Linked DNA regions of Homo sapiens: region 2 is linked to region 1. The links are contacts of gene promoters, found by promoter capture Hi-C in blood cells and fetal thymus (Javierre and others, 2016). All regions are on one chromosome and are shown on one strand. The core of a region is centred on a gene start or on the middle of the fragment in contact, and the rest is flanking DNA. Distances in the headings are between cores, read along the strand shown. Region 1 holds the start of PIWIL2 (piwi like RNA-mediated gene silencing 2). Region 2 holds the start of PEBP4 (phosphatidylethanolamine binding protein 4).

What was found. The method cuts DNA at HindIII sites, captures the fragments that hold promoters and counts their contacts. A CHiCAGO score of 5 or more calls a contact.
Region 2: a fragment that was not itself captured here is called in contact with the fragment with the promoter of PIWIL2 in region 1 in 1 of 17 cell types (naive CD4 T cells); the score reaches 5.6 in naive CD4 T cells.

What each region holds. Positions count from the first base shown.
Region 1 is chr8:22,270,249-22,277,937 of GRCh38, forward strand. It overlaps PIWIL2 (piwi like RNA-mediated gene silencing 2), which reads left to right and starts at 5,068. Exons shown (of 23, transcript NM_018068.5): 1 at 5,068-5,150. PIWIL2-DT (PIWIL2 divergent transcript) reads right to left here and starts at 4,914. Exons shown (of 2, transcript NR_134293.1): 1 at 4,731-4,914. RefSeq lists enhancers at 212-381, 5,348-5,993. The HindIII fragment of the contact is 4,124 bases long and covers 4,350-7,689 here.
Region 2 is chr8:22,922,198-22,929,886 of GRCh38, forward strand. PEBP4 (phosphatidylethanolamine binding protein 4) reads right to left here and starts at 5,717. Exons shown (of 7, transcript NM_144962.3): 1 at 5,626-5,717; 2 at 5,387-5,523. The coding sequence starts at 5,517. The HindIII fragment of the contact is 9,707 bases long and covers 1-7,689 here.

The sequences.
Region 1 (7,689 bases), core at 3,818-6,317:
AATTAGTTGGGCGTCGTGGCGGGAGCCTGTAATCCCAGGTACTCAGGAGGCTGAGGCAGGAGAATTGCTTGAACCCGGGAGGCAGAGGTTGCAGTGAGCCAAGATCGTACCATTGTACTCCAGCTTGGGCAACAGAACTAGACTCCGTCTCAAAAAAAAGAAAAAGAAAAAAAAGATATATTTTACATATCATATCATATAATTTATCCTATTGAATAATTTTTGGTAAATTTAATGAGTGGTGCAAACATTGCCATAAGTCAGTTTTTGAACATTTTTGTCACCCTAATAAAAGCCCTCATGCACATTTACAGTTCATCCTAATTCCCACCCCAGCCCCAGGCAACCATTAGTTTACATTCTGTCTCTATAGATTTATGTTTTCTAGACATTTCACATAAATGGAATCATACAATATGTGGTCTCTTATGTCTGGTTTCTTTCATTTAACATATTTTTTGGGGTTCATCCATGCCATAGCAGTTTGTTCCTTCTTATTGATGAATCCATCCATTGTGTGAATATATACCACATCTTTATTCCTTTTTTTTTTTTTTTTTTTTTTGAGACAGAGTTTTGCTCTTGTTGCCCAGGCTGGAGTGCAGTGGCGCGATCTTGGCTCACTGCAACCTCTGCCCCCTGGGTTCAAGCGATTCTCCTAGCTCAGCCTCCTGAGTAGCTGGGATTACAGGCGCCTGCCACCACACCCAGCTAATTTTTTGTATTTTTAGTAGAGATGGGTTTTCATCATGTTGGCCAGGCTGCTTTCGAACTCCTGACCTCAGGCGATCCACCCGCCTTGGCCTCCCAAAGTGCAGGGATTACAGGCATGAGCCACCGCACCCGGCCGGGATTACAGGCATGAGCCACCGTGCCCGGCCTCCTTTTTTTTTTTAACGCATCCCCATTGTTAAGCATACAAATTTCTGTTTATTCATTTACCAGTTGATGGACATTTAGGTGAAGTTTTTGGCAATTATCAATAATGCTGCTATGAACATTTGCATGCAAGTTTTGTGTGGACATGTTTTCATTTTTCTTAGGTAGCTACCAAGAAGTGAAATTTTGGTTCCTACAGTAATTTTTTTCTTAACTTTTTGAGAAACTGCCAAATGTTTCCCAAAGAGGCTGCATCATTTTACATTCCCACTGGCAATGTCTGAGGGTTCCTGTTCCACCACATCCTTGCTGACTTCTGTTATTCTATTAGTCAGACAGGCCTGCCATAACAAATTGCCACAGACTGGGTGGCCTCAGCAACACACATTTGTTTTCTCACAGCTCTGGAGACTATGATTCTATGATCAAGGTGCTGGCAAATTTGATTTCTGGTGAGTACCATCTCCCTAGTTTATAGATGGCCGCCATCTTGCTGTGTCCTCACATGGCCTTGTCTCTGTGCTTCCATGAAGAGAGAGGGATAGAGATAGAGAAAGATCTCATGTCTTTCTCTTCTGATAAGGACACAAATCCTATCAGATTAGAGCTCCTCCTTACCTCATTTATGTTAATTATCTCCCTACATACTTTATCTCCAAATACAGGGGATTAGGGCTTCAACATAGGTTTTGCAAGGAGGACACAATTCACTCCCTAACATTCCTCCCTCTGTCCCCCGCAAATTCATGTTCTTCTCACATGCAACACATTCGCCCCATCCTAACAGCCCCCAAAGTCTTACACCGTTTCAGTATCAATTGCAAGTCTAAGATCTCATCTAAATACAATAGGCCCTCCCTATCCACGGGTTCTGCATCCATGGATTAAACCAACCACAAATCAAAAATATTTGGAAAAAACAAAAAGGATGGCTGCATCAGTACTGAACAGGTGCAGACTTTTTTCTTGTAATTATTCCCTAAACAATACAGTGTAACAACTATTTATGTAGCATTTACACTGTATTTGGTATTATAATTCATCTAGAGACAATTTAAAGTATACAGGGAAATGTGCATAGGTTATATGCAAATATAAAATACACCATTTTATATAAGAGACTTGAGCATCTGTGAATTTTGGTATCCATGGAGGGAGGTCCTAAAAACCAATACTCTGCAGATACTGAAGGACAAATTCCATTAAATTTTACGGCTCCAGTCAGGGGTGGTGGCTCACACCCATAAGCCACTGAGTTCAAGACCAGCCTGGGCAATATGGTGAAACCCTGTCTCTACTAAAGGGCTTATTAGTTCCAACAAGAGCTGGTTGTTAAAAAGAACCTAGCGCTTCCCTCCCCTCTCTTGCTTCCTCTCTCTCCATGTAATCTCTGCACAGGCCGGGTCTCTTTGCCTTCTGCCATGAGTGGAAGCACCCTGAGGTCCTCACCAGGTGTCCAGTCTTGAACCTTCCAGCCAGCATAACCATGAGCTCGATAAACCTCTTTTCTTTATAAATTACCCAGCCTCAGGTATTCCTTTATAGTAACACTAAAGGGACTAATGGACTGACACAGGTCCACTCACATCTTTTGGCCCCCCCCCCTTTTTTTTTGAGAGAGAGTTTTGCACTTGTTGCCCAGGCTGGAGTGCAGTGGCGTGATCTCAGCTCACTGTAACCTCCGCCTCCCGGGTTCAAGTGATTCTCCTGCCTCAGCCTCACGAGTAGCTGGGATTACAGGCACCACACCAACATGCCTGGCTAATTTTTATGTTTTTAGTAGAGACAGCATTTCACCATGTTGGCCAGGCTGGTCTCGAACTCCTGACCTCAGGCCATCTGCCCACATTGGCCTCCTAAAGTGCTGGGATTACAGATGTGAGCCACCATACCTTTTGCCCATTTTTTTATTAGATTGTGTGTCCTCCTGTTATTCGGCCTGATGTGTTTCGTGAGCTCATATTTATTCATACCTTTTACGTGGGAGTTTTGGGAGCCTGGTGTATTTCTCCTGAAAGGATTTCTAGTTATCTCTGCCAGGAACCCAGACATACTACATAGGTCTACTTTAAATGAAATCCTTCCTATAGGTTTTAGGCCCCACCAGTAATGTAATTTTCTGCCCTTAATCTTGCTGTGGCTCTGGGGATCTTATTTTCTGAACAGCAGCAACAACAACAACAACAAACCAGAATACATGGTTGGAATAGAAATATTTATGGTGACCAAGTGCCCAGGGTATTTGGAGTCATGACTGCCTAGGAAAATTCAGGTTATGTATAGTTATGGGGCCATTTTCACTCTGAATTTTAGAGACTGGCAGGGCCAGGTGGACAGAATTTGGTGTTACGACTTTTTTGAGTTAAAAAAAAAATCTGTGATTTATCTCAAAATACTATCTCTTAGTGTGATATACGTGCTCTTTTTGCCCCTTTCATTTTTAATTAACAAATAGCAATTACATATGGTTATGTGGTACAGTATGATATTCTGATATTTATTTACATTGTGGAATGATTAAACCAAATTAACATATCCATCACCTCACATACTCATCTTTTTGTGATGAGATTATGTGTGTCCTTTTTAATCAATATCCTAGGGATGGCTAATTAACAATTAAAGTACTCTGTTAGGGAATATAATCTCCAAAAGAGGTTGATTAGCTTTTGAAAGGTCCTAAATAGATGTCCACGTTTCAGAAAGCTTCAACCATTTTTATGTCCAATCAACAGCAGGACTATATGGATTTTCCTTTGGTTAAATAAGTAGTGTTAATGATGTCTGGATTAGCTAGAAATACTGTACGAAGGCCACCTACACTTGCATGGATGGACAGGATATAGAAATCTAGGAAACCCAATGTGCATACCCTTTGTAATGGTGCTCTTGGTTTAGGTTCCCAAATAGAAGACATACTCAGGAAATTATCTGAGGATTATTATTCCCTTACTTCAACTAGAAGATTTGCTGAATCCTGCCCCCAAAATATTGTTTCATGTGTATAGAATAAGTGTGTCATGCAAAGTTTGGTCGGAGTTCCTAAAAGAACAAGGAGTTGGATCTTCACGAAAGTTACAAAACAGTTTGTATAACTGTTTTTGACTGCACTTGCTACCATTAAGTATTTGCACAGGCAGGAGAATTGCTTACAACATAACATTGCAACAGCTGCAAGTTAAGAAGGTTGTGTGGTAAAGGAAGTGAAAATGTTAGATCATGGTAAACAAATACTATCTAGGAACAGTGAAGGGGCATCGTGCCAACTGGATTCCTGAGTTGAAAATCATCCTGCTCCAATAATTTTCAGACTATCCTCATTCGGGAAGGATAGGGAGGGCCCTTGTATGTGTGGATTAAAATAAGTCATGGGATATCTGAGGCCTGGAAAAAATAAGGTTAACCCTTCTCTAGTCCTATTCCATGCAGAGCCCTTGGATGTCTCTATAGCATCCGCCAAAGCCTTCAGAAGCTTTACCTCAACCACACTGTAAAACCTGGGTGTGGGAGAGGGATGCAGTTATTTGACAAAATGGTTGGGAGAGGGTCAGAAATCTTTCTTTGGGTAAAATCATTCTGTAGTTGCTGAAGTAACCACTGATAATTTAATCTGCTTCCTAGAAAGCTCTTCTTGGCTCACAGATTTAGGCATCAATAAAAATAGGCAACATTTATCGAGGGTCGTCTTCTCCTTGTGCTAAGTATTTTACATACGTTATGTCATTATGTGTGTACATTTCCATTCAACCCTATGAATGGATGTTTTTAGTTTTTATCTCTGTTTTATGTATAACGAAAGTGATGTGCAGAAATCATATGAATTAGGTGTTTGAATGCGCACTCGAGCTTACCGTTTCTTTTTCACCACCTGTATCGCTAATCCTCTTAACTGGCAGGAATGGGGCAAGTCAATTTCAACACGCGAGTCTTAGGCTAAATCTGTTTATAGGAGTTGCCCCCAGAAAGGGAGTCAGGATCTCCAAACCCTAACACATTTTAACGCTGAGGTTCACATAACTCCCAGCGCTCCTTCCGCACGAACCGCCCCTGCACAGGGAACCTGCTGGAAAGGACGAGCCTCTCTTGCAGATGGGCCAATTAGATAGCTTGCTCTTGTGAACGACAGGTCTTGTGGCCAATGGGCTCATCCCCGGAGGCCTCGAAGAGCGGAAATTGGCCCTGGAGCATGTGGGCCCCGGGGCGTGGGTTGAGCTCGGTCTTCCCCTGAGGCCGCGCGGAGCTGGGCGACTGGGGCGAGGACTCGCGCACAGGTGAGTACTGGCCCCGGTTGCGGCATGCCAGGCAGGCCAGGGTCGCTCGGGGGCGGGCAGGTTGGGTTTTTGCTCAAGCACGTGGGGTGAGCCGCCCTCCCGGGCCTCTCCCCTCCCACTTCGGGGAGCTGCTGAGGGTTGCGGGTCGGGCGGGGGCGGGAAGTCGTTATTCGAGGCCCGGCGCCGCGGCCCCAAGAAGGTGTCCAGGTTGGGGCGGCAGGGGAGGCCCTCCGGAGGCCCAAGTGGACGTCTTATTTGGCCTGAGAGAGGAGATAGAACCCCTGGCAGGGCTGTGGCTTTGGGGAAAGGTGCTTTTCTCGGGGTGGAAAGGGGATGGGACTCGCCTTCGGGGGCCTTGCTTCTGGTTAGGCCCGAGTCGCGAGGCCTCAGCGCGGAGCACGCACCCAGGGATGCGAGGGAGGCAGGCCCAGCCCGTCCTGGGTTCGCTCCCCATTGAACCTTTCGGACAGCCAAGTATCTGCTACCTGATCCCAGGGGGAAACCCACACTGGGAGAGGGCCCTCTGGGGGAGCTACCTGAATCTATAGAAGTGGTGCTGGAGGTTGAGGGAAGCGTGGACAAAGAGGAAGATTCCAGATGTCCCTTAAGGGAGGCCGTCCAGCGCTTCTGAGTATGTAGCTGTTAGCATACTGATTGCTTGGGATTCTTTGGGTGGTGTTGGGGAGGTGTGAGCAGAGTCCTGGCTCACCGAAAAGGGGTGTTAGCAGTTAAATATAGCCTTCAAGAAAGGGAGTCATATCCTGCGTTTAGAGTGTGAAAGAGGATAGTTTAGTTCAATAAATTTTGCAAGTTCCTGAACTGTCTGCACTTACGCTGTGGGTTTATGAATTGTGTGTTAATATTTTCTTTAAATGTATGATTTCTCTGTAGCTAATACTTAAGACAGCTTTTTTGTTTGTTTGTTTGTTTGTTTTGAGACGGAGTCTCGCTCCGTAGCGCAGGCTGGAGTGCAGTGGCGTGATCTCTGCTCACTGCAACCTCCGCCTCCCAGGTTCAAGCGATTCTCCTGCCTCTGCCTCCCGAGTAGCTGGGATTACAGGCGCAGGCCACCATGCCCAGCTAATTTTTGTATTTTTAGTAGAGATGAGGGTTCACCATTTTGGTCAGGCTGGTCTCGAACCCCTGACCTTGTGATCTGCCCACCTTGGCCTTCCAGAGTGCTGGGATTACAGGCGCGAGCCACCACCCCCGGCCAAGACAGCTTTTTGAAAGTTAAGAAGAGGCTTCTCCCAGCATTTGGGGAGTCTGAGGTGAGAGGATCACTTGAGGTCAGCAGTTTGAGACCAGCCTGGGCAACATGGCAAGATCCCGTCTCTACAAATTTTTTTTAAAAATTAGCTGGGTATGGTGGCAGGTGCCTGAAGTCCTAGCTACTTGGGAGGCTGAGACAAGAGGACTGCTTGAGCACAGGAGGTTGAGACTGCAGTGAGCTAAGATGCCACCACTTCACTGTAGCCTGGATGACAGAACAAGACCCTGTCTCTTAAAAAAAAAAAATTCTTTTCCGTTAAGAAATATTTTTCAGGAATCAGGGGCAAGTCAGGACAATGAGAGGAGCCCCTTAAAGAGGGAGTCTTGAAATCTGTAGGTTATAAAGTGATATATATATATATATTTTTTTTTTTGAGACAGAATCTTGTGCTGTCACCCAGGCTGGAGTGCCACGATCTTGACTCACTGCAACCTCCGCCTCCTGGGTTCAAGCAATTCTTGTGCCTCAGACTCCTGAGGAGGGGGGATTACAGGCATGCACCACCATGCCTGGCTAATTTTTGTATTTTTAGTAAAGACAGGGTTTCATCATGTTTGCCACGCTGCTCTTGAGCTCCTGATCTCAAGTGATCCACCCGCCTCGGCCTCCCAAAGTGCTGTGATTACAGGCATGGGCCACCATGCCCGACCTACAGGTTATGAAGTGATTTTGAAGAGACCTGATGGGCTTTAGATTTGGTAGGGAAGCCAGGGAGAGCCTCACCCCGGGTAACCTGGGAGAGAGAAGGGTGTTAAATGCAACCTGTGAGACTGAGCAAGTATTGTAGGCTCAAAGCAGAAAGACTGTGTACTCTGGAGACTTCTGATGGAGTTTGAAAGAAGAGAGTTTTTAAAATTTTTTTTTCTATTTTTTAATTATTTGTAGAGACAGGGTCTCGTTGTGTTCCTAAGACTGGCCTCAAACTCCTGGCCTCAATGGTCCTCCCACCTGGGCCTCCCAGAGTGCTGGGATTACAGGCATGAACCACTGTGTGTGTGTGCTCAGCCTGAAGGAAGAATTTTGTAAAAAAGAATTGGATAGAGATTCGGAGAAGCAGCTAAACAGATCAAGGAAGAGAATTTGGTGCAATCATAGACTGGAAAAAAGTTAGGACTCTTATGTAGGAAAGAGAGGCCAAAAACAAAGCAAAAACCCATAAATATTTGTTGACAATAATTTTATGATATGGCTGTGTTAACTATGAAATTGTTTATAGGCCAGGCACAGTGGCTCACACCTGTAATCCCAGCACTTTGGGAGGCCCAG
Region 2 (7,689 bases), core at 2,147-4,646, 650 kb after region 1:
AGCGTATTGCCCCACCTAGGATGATGGGAAAGGGGCATGTGCAGGCCTCTGCCCTGCTCAGCTGCTTTAGCAAAGTCTTGGAGAAGGACACGGAGACAAATTTATTTGATCTGCAGATGGCACAGAGCTGGTAACCAACAATTCTGATGATCAAATTGACTTACGAGACGACCTGGACAAACCTGAGGTGAGCTGAATCAAAAATTAAAGTTACTGAGAAAATACACTTTAAATTTTGCATTCAAGACTAGGCACGGTGGCTCATGCCTATAATCTCAGCTCTTTGGGAGGCTGGGGTGGGAGCATCACTTGAGCCCAGGAATCTGAGACCAGCCTAGGCAACATAGTGAGACCCTGTTTCTACCAAAAATTAAAAAAACAAACAAACAAAAAAAAAACACCATGGTAGTGCCTGCCTGTGTTCCCAGCTACTTGGGAGGATCACTTGAGCCCAGGAGGTAGAAGCTGCAGTGAGCCATGATTGCATCACCGCACTCCAGCCTGGGTGACAGAGCAAGACCCTATCTCAAAAACAACTTGCATTCAAGCCAGAAAACCTCAAAGGTGCCACCTTCCTGTGTGCCCTTGCTGCTTGTGGTTTACCTGACATGGAATTCTTCTAATTTCCATGTGGAGAGTTTGGGGATCTCCTGATCTCCTTGACAAGACTTGAAGGCACTCTAGACAGTGGAGTGAAAAGATCAGGGGCCCTGGCCCCAGCTTTGCCATGAACTAATGCTACATAAGGGACTGGGGATGAAGGGCATGACTTTTACTGGGCCACCCCAATATATCGGGGACATCACATATGTATGATTTCATTTCATGCAACCATACCTTGAGGCAGCTGTTATCACTATTCCTATCTCCAGATGAGTAACTGAGAAACTGTTGGACAATACCTATTTGCAGCTGCTACGTGTTGGAGTGATCTGTTGTGTACAACAGAGAACTAGTACTGTGGGCTTGGCTGCACTTTCTTCCCCGCACCACACGTTTTCCCTAGTGAGCTGTTTCATTCCTCCAGGCTTCAGTTTGAGCTAGGTGGTCATGTGGGTCTCTGTCATGGCAAGAATTAGATCACAAGGGCTGGGCGTGGTGGCTCAAGCCTGTAATCCCAGCACTTTGGGAGGCTGAGGTGAGATGATCACTTGAGCCCAGGAGTTAGAGGCCAGCCTGGGCAACGTAGTGAGATCCTGTCTCTATAAAACATAGAAAAAATTAGCCAAGTGTGGTGGTACGCATCTGTAGTCCAGCTATATGGGAGGCTGAGGTGGGAGGATCGCTTGAGTCTGGGAGGTCAAGGTTGCAGTGAGCCATGATCCTGCTTCTACATTCCAGCCTGGGTGACAGAGGGTGATGCACTGAGACCCTGTCTCTAGAAACGTGGCTTCTCAGCTGTGCCTGTATGAAGGGCTTAGAATTTCAGCTGCCCCTCAGTGAGTGCTATGGTCTGAGTGTTTGTGTCTCCTCAAAATTTATATGTTGGAATTTAATCCTCAATATGATGGTATTAACAAGCGGGACTTGGAAGAGGTGATTAAGTCACCCTTATAAAAGGCACCCTCATAAGAGAGGCTGAAGGGAGCTGCCCTTCCCTTCCCCCATGTGAAGTCGCAGCAAGAAGGTGCCATCTTTGAAGCAGAGAGCAACCTTGTACCGCACACTGAATCCACTAGCACCTTGATTTTGGCGCTTCTCAGCCTCCAGAGTTGTGAGTAATACATTCCTGCTGTTTAGAAATGACCTAGTCTAAGGTATTTTGTTATGGTAGCTGAACAGACTAAGACAGTGAGGATGACAAAAAGACACATGGGATATGAGGCTGCCTCGAAGAGGGGGCTCACTGTGAAAGTGTGGGTCACCCCACTTGAAAAACAGCAAGCCAGGTATGGCAGTGCATGCCTGTAATACCGGCACTTTGGGAGGCTGAGGCAGCAGGATTGCTTGAGCCCAGGAGTTTGAGAACAGCCTGGACTACATACCGAGACTCCCAACTCTACAAAAAATAAGAAACTTAGCCAGGTGTGGTGGCGTGCACCTGTAGTCCCAGCTACTCAGGACGTTGAGGCAGGAGGATTGCTTGAGCCCAGGTGTTCAAGGCTGCAGTGAGCTATGATCAGGCCACTGCACTCCAGCCTAAGTGACAGACAAGACTCTGTCTCTAAAAGAAATGTATTTAAACAGGAGAGACCAAGGCCCCTGAGAGAGGTTGAAGGACTGGGGATGACTGCCCAGGTTGGGGGGAGCTGGGGATGAAGGGGCAGGGCAGGGCATGGCACCTGTCACCACACACATGAATGACCACAAAGAAGATGAGAAACTAGACTAGTTTGTGCACCTCGTGGATCCGCACTACAACAGGTAGGGTTGGTGTTCAAGAAGAGCAGCAGGGCCTCGGGGTAAGAATGTACTTTCTGAAGAACGGAGCTTTTCAACACCAAAAAGCAGGACGCTTTGAGCAGCAGCTCCCATCCCTAGGGGAGCTTGCAGGGCTGACTGGATGGCAGCAGCAGGTGGGGTTTTTTGAGTGGATTCACCTCCTGGCTGCAGGTTTGGAGAATCATGGTTCTTTCCATTCTGCGACTGAGCCCAGGGTTGGGACCGTCGGTGGTTTTGCTGGTCTTGTCTGGGGTATCTCAGAAGCAGGGAAGGTCTGATTCCCGAGAAGCGTTACTCTTAACAATGTCTCACAGCTTGTCACAGTACATAAAATTCCTCCCTTATAGATTAATACCTTTAGGCATTGAGTCCAATCTTTAAGAGTTCCCTGGTAGACCAAATGCCCACAAGAGGAGTGCCTTCTCTGGGGGATCTCTTGCCAAGGTCAGAGCCTGAGCCGAGTGGGGATCTTGAGGAGGGGTCAGTGCAGGAGGTCCTGCTGTCTCCTCAGGGGTCCGATCTGTCCTTGATGCATTTTTCATTTCATCATCATTCATGATGCTCTCTTCCAAACAAAAATCTTCAGTGACAATAAAGACAAAGCTCCTCTTTTGCGATGATGGCTTGAAATCAAAAGACATCTTCCTGGCATGCAACCTTAAGGTCATAAGTCTCTTTCTCAGACTGGGGGCCTGCTGGTGTATTCTGGGAGTCCTGAGAATGGGCCCCCTTGACTCGAGTCTGGGAGCCCTGAACCTGGGGTGAAGGTTGTCAGAAGCAGATAGGGAAAGAGCGTGAGTGTGGAGTCAGACAAGGGGGCTAGATCTTGGCTCTGCTACTTTTAAGCTATGTAAACACTGTGGGCAGATTTCTTAATCTCTGGGGATTCTTCATCTGCAGAATGGGGGTGCTAACACAGACTTTGTAGGTTCGTTACTGACAGTGAAAGGAGTCAAGGAGTCCAGGCACCGGCAGAGCACCTGGCACACAGAAGGTGCCCTGGGACTTCCCACGTGTGTCCCCATGCATGGGTCACCAGGGCACCAACATGTGATCTTGGCAGGGCAGAGCCTAGGGCATCTGGAGCCTCAGGCTGGTCACCCCCAATGACCCTACAGACATCCTCATTTCCCACAGTGTGGGAAACACCAGGAACTGCTGAGGTCCTCCTTAAGGGGCCCTTATTGTGGCCCAGGCCTGCTGTACCCTGGCCCAGCTGACCTCTCCTGGTTACGGGGGTGTTGACCTTGCACTGCTCAGAGCGAGAAGCCTGCCAGCCCCTCAGCTCACTCAGCAGAGCACCTAGAAAATTAGATCCCACTTGTGAGAGGCAACCACGTTTCTCTTCCTCCTTCCACGTGAAAACTTCACCCAGAACTGTTTTCTTGCTTGTTTGTTTTTTTGTTTGTTTTTTGAGACAGAGTCTTGGTCTGTCGCCCAGGCTAGAGTGCAGTGGCGCAATCTCGGCTCACTGCAACCTCCACCTCCCAGATTCAAGGGATTCTCCTGCCTCAGCCTCCTGAGTAGCTGGGATTACAGGTGTGCGCCACCATGCCCGGCTAATTTTTTTTTATTTTTAGTAGAGACAGGGTTTCACCGTGTTGGTCAGGCTGGTCTCAAACTCCTGACCTTGTTATCTGCCTGCCTCAGTCTCCCAAAGTCTTGGGATTACAGGTGTGAGCCACCGTGCCCAGCCTACACCCAGAACTATTTAACAAGATTTTTCAAAATATACTGACACGAACAAAGTTTGTTACTTTTTGTTGTTGTTGTTGTTGTTGTTTAGGCAGGGTCTGGCTCTGTTGCCCAGGCTGGAATGCAGTGGCGCAATCATGGCTCAGACCAGCCTTGACCTCCTGGGTTTAAGCGATCCTCCCACCTCAACCTCTTGAGTAGCTGGGACGACAGGTGTGCATCAGCATGCTTGGCTAGTTTTTAAACTGTTTTGTAGAGAAAAGAGTCTCTCTATGTTGCCCAGGCTGGTCTCAAACCCCTGGGCTCAAGTGATCCTCCACCTTGGCCTCCCAAAGTGCTGGGATTACACATGTGAGCCACTTCACCCAACAAAAATGTTACTTTTTAAGAAGGATTCAACTACATAATTTTAAGAGAAGACATGTATTTATGGTTCTAAAAGTAATGTTTGTCAAAAATGTTTTAAATAAAATTAAAAAGAAAAACAAACATTTTCATGAACAGTAATGTTTGTGAAAATTCAAAGGTACAGAAGAGAGTAAGTAGTCAAAGTTCTTTTTCCTCCTCTCTCATTTCTCACACGTGGGCTCAGTGGGGTGTCCCCCTCCTCAGCCACCAAACTGGCAGGGAGGTTTGGCATCAGTTTGGCCTGGGGAGTCCTCAGGATGACCCACAAGTCCACACAAATGAAGGCTTGCTTTTCTAACCGGCAGAGTTGGTGAGGAGAGAGCCGAACGCCAGGCTTTCCAGCTTACCCAAAGTAGAAGCAGCTTGTGCCCTTGGAAGGGAAGAAGCCAGCCTCGTCACCCAACTCCATCCAGTGCCATGATCCCTAAAGGGCCCTGCACAAACGCTCCTGGGTCCTATCACTGACAAAAACCTCTCACACAGGAAGGGTCTAATCATACACCTTCTTTCATTCAAATGCCTCTTTGTTGGGGTTCTGGGGAGAGGGGGCATTCAGGCTGCAGGGAGGGATGGTCTCTCTCTGGGTCTCTCTCTGAGGGTCTCAGCCTCCTGCCCCCACAAAGACCCCCCAGGTTTGGAGGGCCCAAGCAGAGCCGACCACATACACAGCCCTCCTGGTCCTGGGAGAGGTGCATTCTGGAAGGCAGGAAGGAGTCTGTTTCTAAATCCCTTTCTCAGTGCCATCCTCCATCAAGGTGGTCTCCAGATCTGACACGTGTTCTGCCTTCCCATAAAATCAGGCTCAGGAGATGGTGCTTCTTGGTTCTGGATATACCCCTCCCTGCCATCTACCTGCCTGGTAGCCTCTGTGCCTCCCGCCTCCAAGCCTGCCCTGACTTACTGGCAAAAGAGGGTGTCCTCGTCCAAGAGGGCCTCATGGGCACACGGGCTGTTCTCATCCTCGTCTCCAGTGACCACCATCATGAGACCCAGTAACAGTGCTGCTGTGACCAGCCTCATTGTCCAACCCATGGGCACCTGGAACAGAAAGAACTTTAGAGCGGCTGGATCCCCTGCAGGGGCCTTCCTGCCCACTACCTGTGCCCCCGACCCCAGGGGCCCACTTGGCAGGATAGAGACCTCTGGTTAAGCACAGGGAGAAGGACAGGCAGCTTCCAGGGCTCCGCAGCTAATCCAGTCCACCACCCGGACACAAGTACTTTGGGAGGACTGGGCCTCTTCCAAGTTGGACTCAATGTACGTTCCTGGCAGAGGCCCCTCCCCTGGCAGGACACAGCTTTGTTGTCACTCTTGTCCTGGCTGCCAGGGCAGAGAGCAGGCTGCAAAGTAGAAGTGCTTATATAAGCTCCTCGGTGCAGCTCCTTGTCCAGTCCCTGCTGTTGGCCCAGGGATGGTCAGCTGGCCAAAGGCCAGCCTGCTCCTTGGCTGTAAGGCAAGCCCTGGGAAGCTGGTGACCCCAGGCTCAGGGCTAGGAGTTGGGCTGTGCCCCTCAGACCGGCTCTGACTCTCCTGGCCCCCATTCTTCCACCACCTGTCTCCACAGCCTGTGAGCTTCCCCAAGGTGGAGGTGGTTGGACACAGTGACCTTGTGTAGGAGGGACTGCTGCAGGGGGTGGGGGTAGGTGCACCCCAGACCGAGGCCAGCTCCGAAGGGCCAGCTCCGAAGGGCCAGCTGAGGACAGAAGGGTGCGTCTGGGTGCACCTTGCAGCTGTGCTGCACTCAGCACTCTCCCAAAATAATCGTATCTGGAGAAGGAGGTCTGGGGAGCTGCTTGGGGCTCAGAAAGGGGTGGCCTGCCCCAGCAGTGCACTGGGAGGAAGGGGAGCCGGGGACTGTCGCCTGCATTCCCTTGGGGAACAGTCCTGCCACCAGGTGCATGTGGGACTCTGGTTTGAGCCTGAGTGGGCAGGGAGAAGAATAAAGGCGGCTTGCAACAGGCTTTCCAATAGCTCTGCTCTCTGCTTCTCAGAGGCGGGGGTGGGAGAGACGTGCCAGCAACTCAGGACTCCTGGCTTCTGCTCTGAGCTCTCTCTGGATGCTGGGAGGCCACTGTGTCTCCCTAGAATGCACCACTTTTCCTTTTCACAAACAAGTAAAATAATTCCTGTCACCGTGGTGCCTTGCTAAGGAATATGAGATCATCGCTGTAAAGTACACGCAGCTAGACCTTTAGAGAAACTACTTTCAGCATAGTCTGCTTTCTGGCTCAATTCCTGCCTCCAGGATCCCAACCTGTAGCAAAAAGCCCCCCTTAGGGGCTACATATTAAACACATTTCTCAATCATTAGGTTCTCTGAAGTACAACCAGGACTCCCCCTTGCCCCAACCAGAAAACATATTCCCAAGATCTCCCCTAGTGGACAGAGTCTAATAGTAGCCTCCTCACAAGATCATTATGAGAATGAAATCAACCAGGTTAAGCCCTCAGTAAGGTGCCTGGCACATAGTAAATGCTCAATAATTTATGAATAGTCTAAGTATTCTCTCACGGATCCATCCATTCATTCATTCCTTTGCAACCCACTTCACTCATAGGCATTAAGCACCTCCCACGTGCCTGCCCCATGTTGGGCCCTGGGGTATAGGTTGAGCATGCAGCTCACAGGACAGCCACAGCCAAGGAGATGCTGCCAGAAGGGCTGCCCAAGACCAAGAAACTCATCTTCCAAATGGCATCCACTAGAGAAGTCTCAACTTTTCTGGGTGTCAACTCCTTTAGCACAGTGATGGCGGCCTGGAAGAAGGGAGAGCCCACAGTGCAGGTTGCTGCTGTTGAGCCCACTTCCAGTGGCGGTTCTTCCTTACTCCACGTGCCAGGCACTTTTATCTCCGAATCCTCATGCCAATCCTTGGAAATAGGCACTATTATCACCCCATCTTATGGAGGAGGAGACAGCACAGTGACATTAGTTAAAACCTGATCTTGGTCACCAAGAAGTGGCAGACCTGGAATTTGAACCCCAGGCTCTGGTTGAACCTGTGGAAACTGGGTTGAGTCCATTGAGTCCATGCTTTGTTTTGAGACAGGGTCTCACTCTCATCGCCCAGGCTGGAGTGCAATGGGGTGATGCTGGCTCCTGCAACCTCCGCCTTCTGGGCTTCAAGGGATTCTCCTGCCACAGCCTCTCAAGTAGCTGGGAGTACAGGCACACCACGGCTCTGGCTAATTTTTGTATTTTTT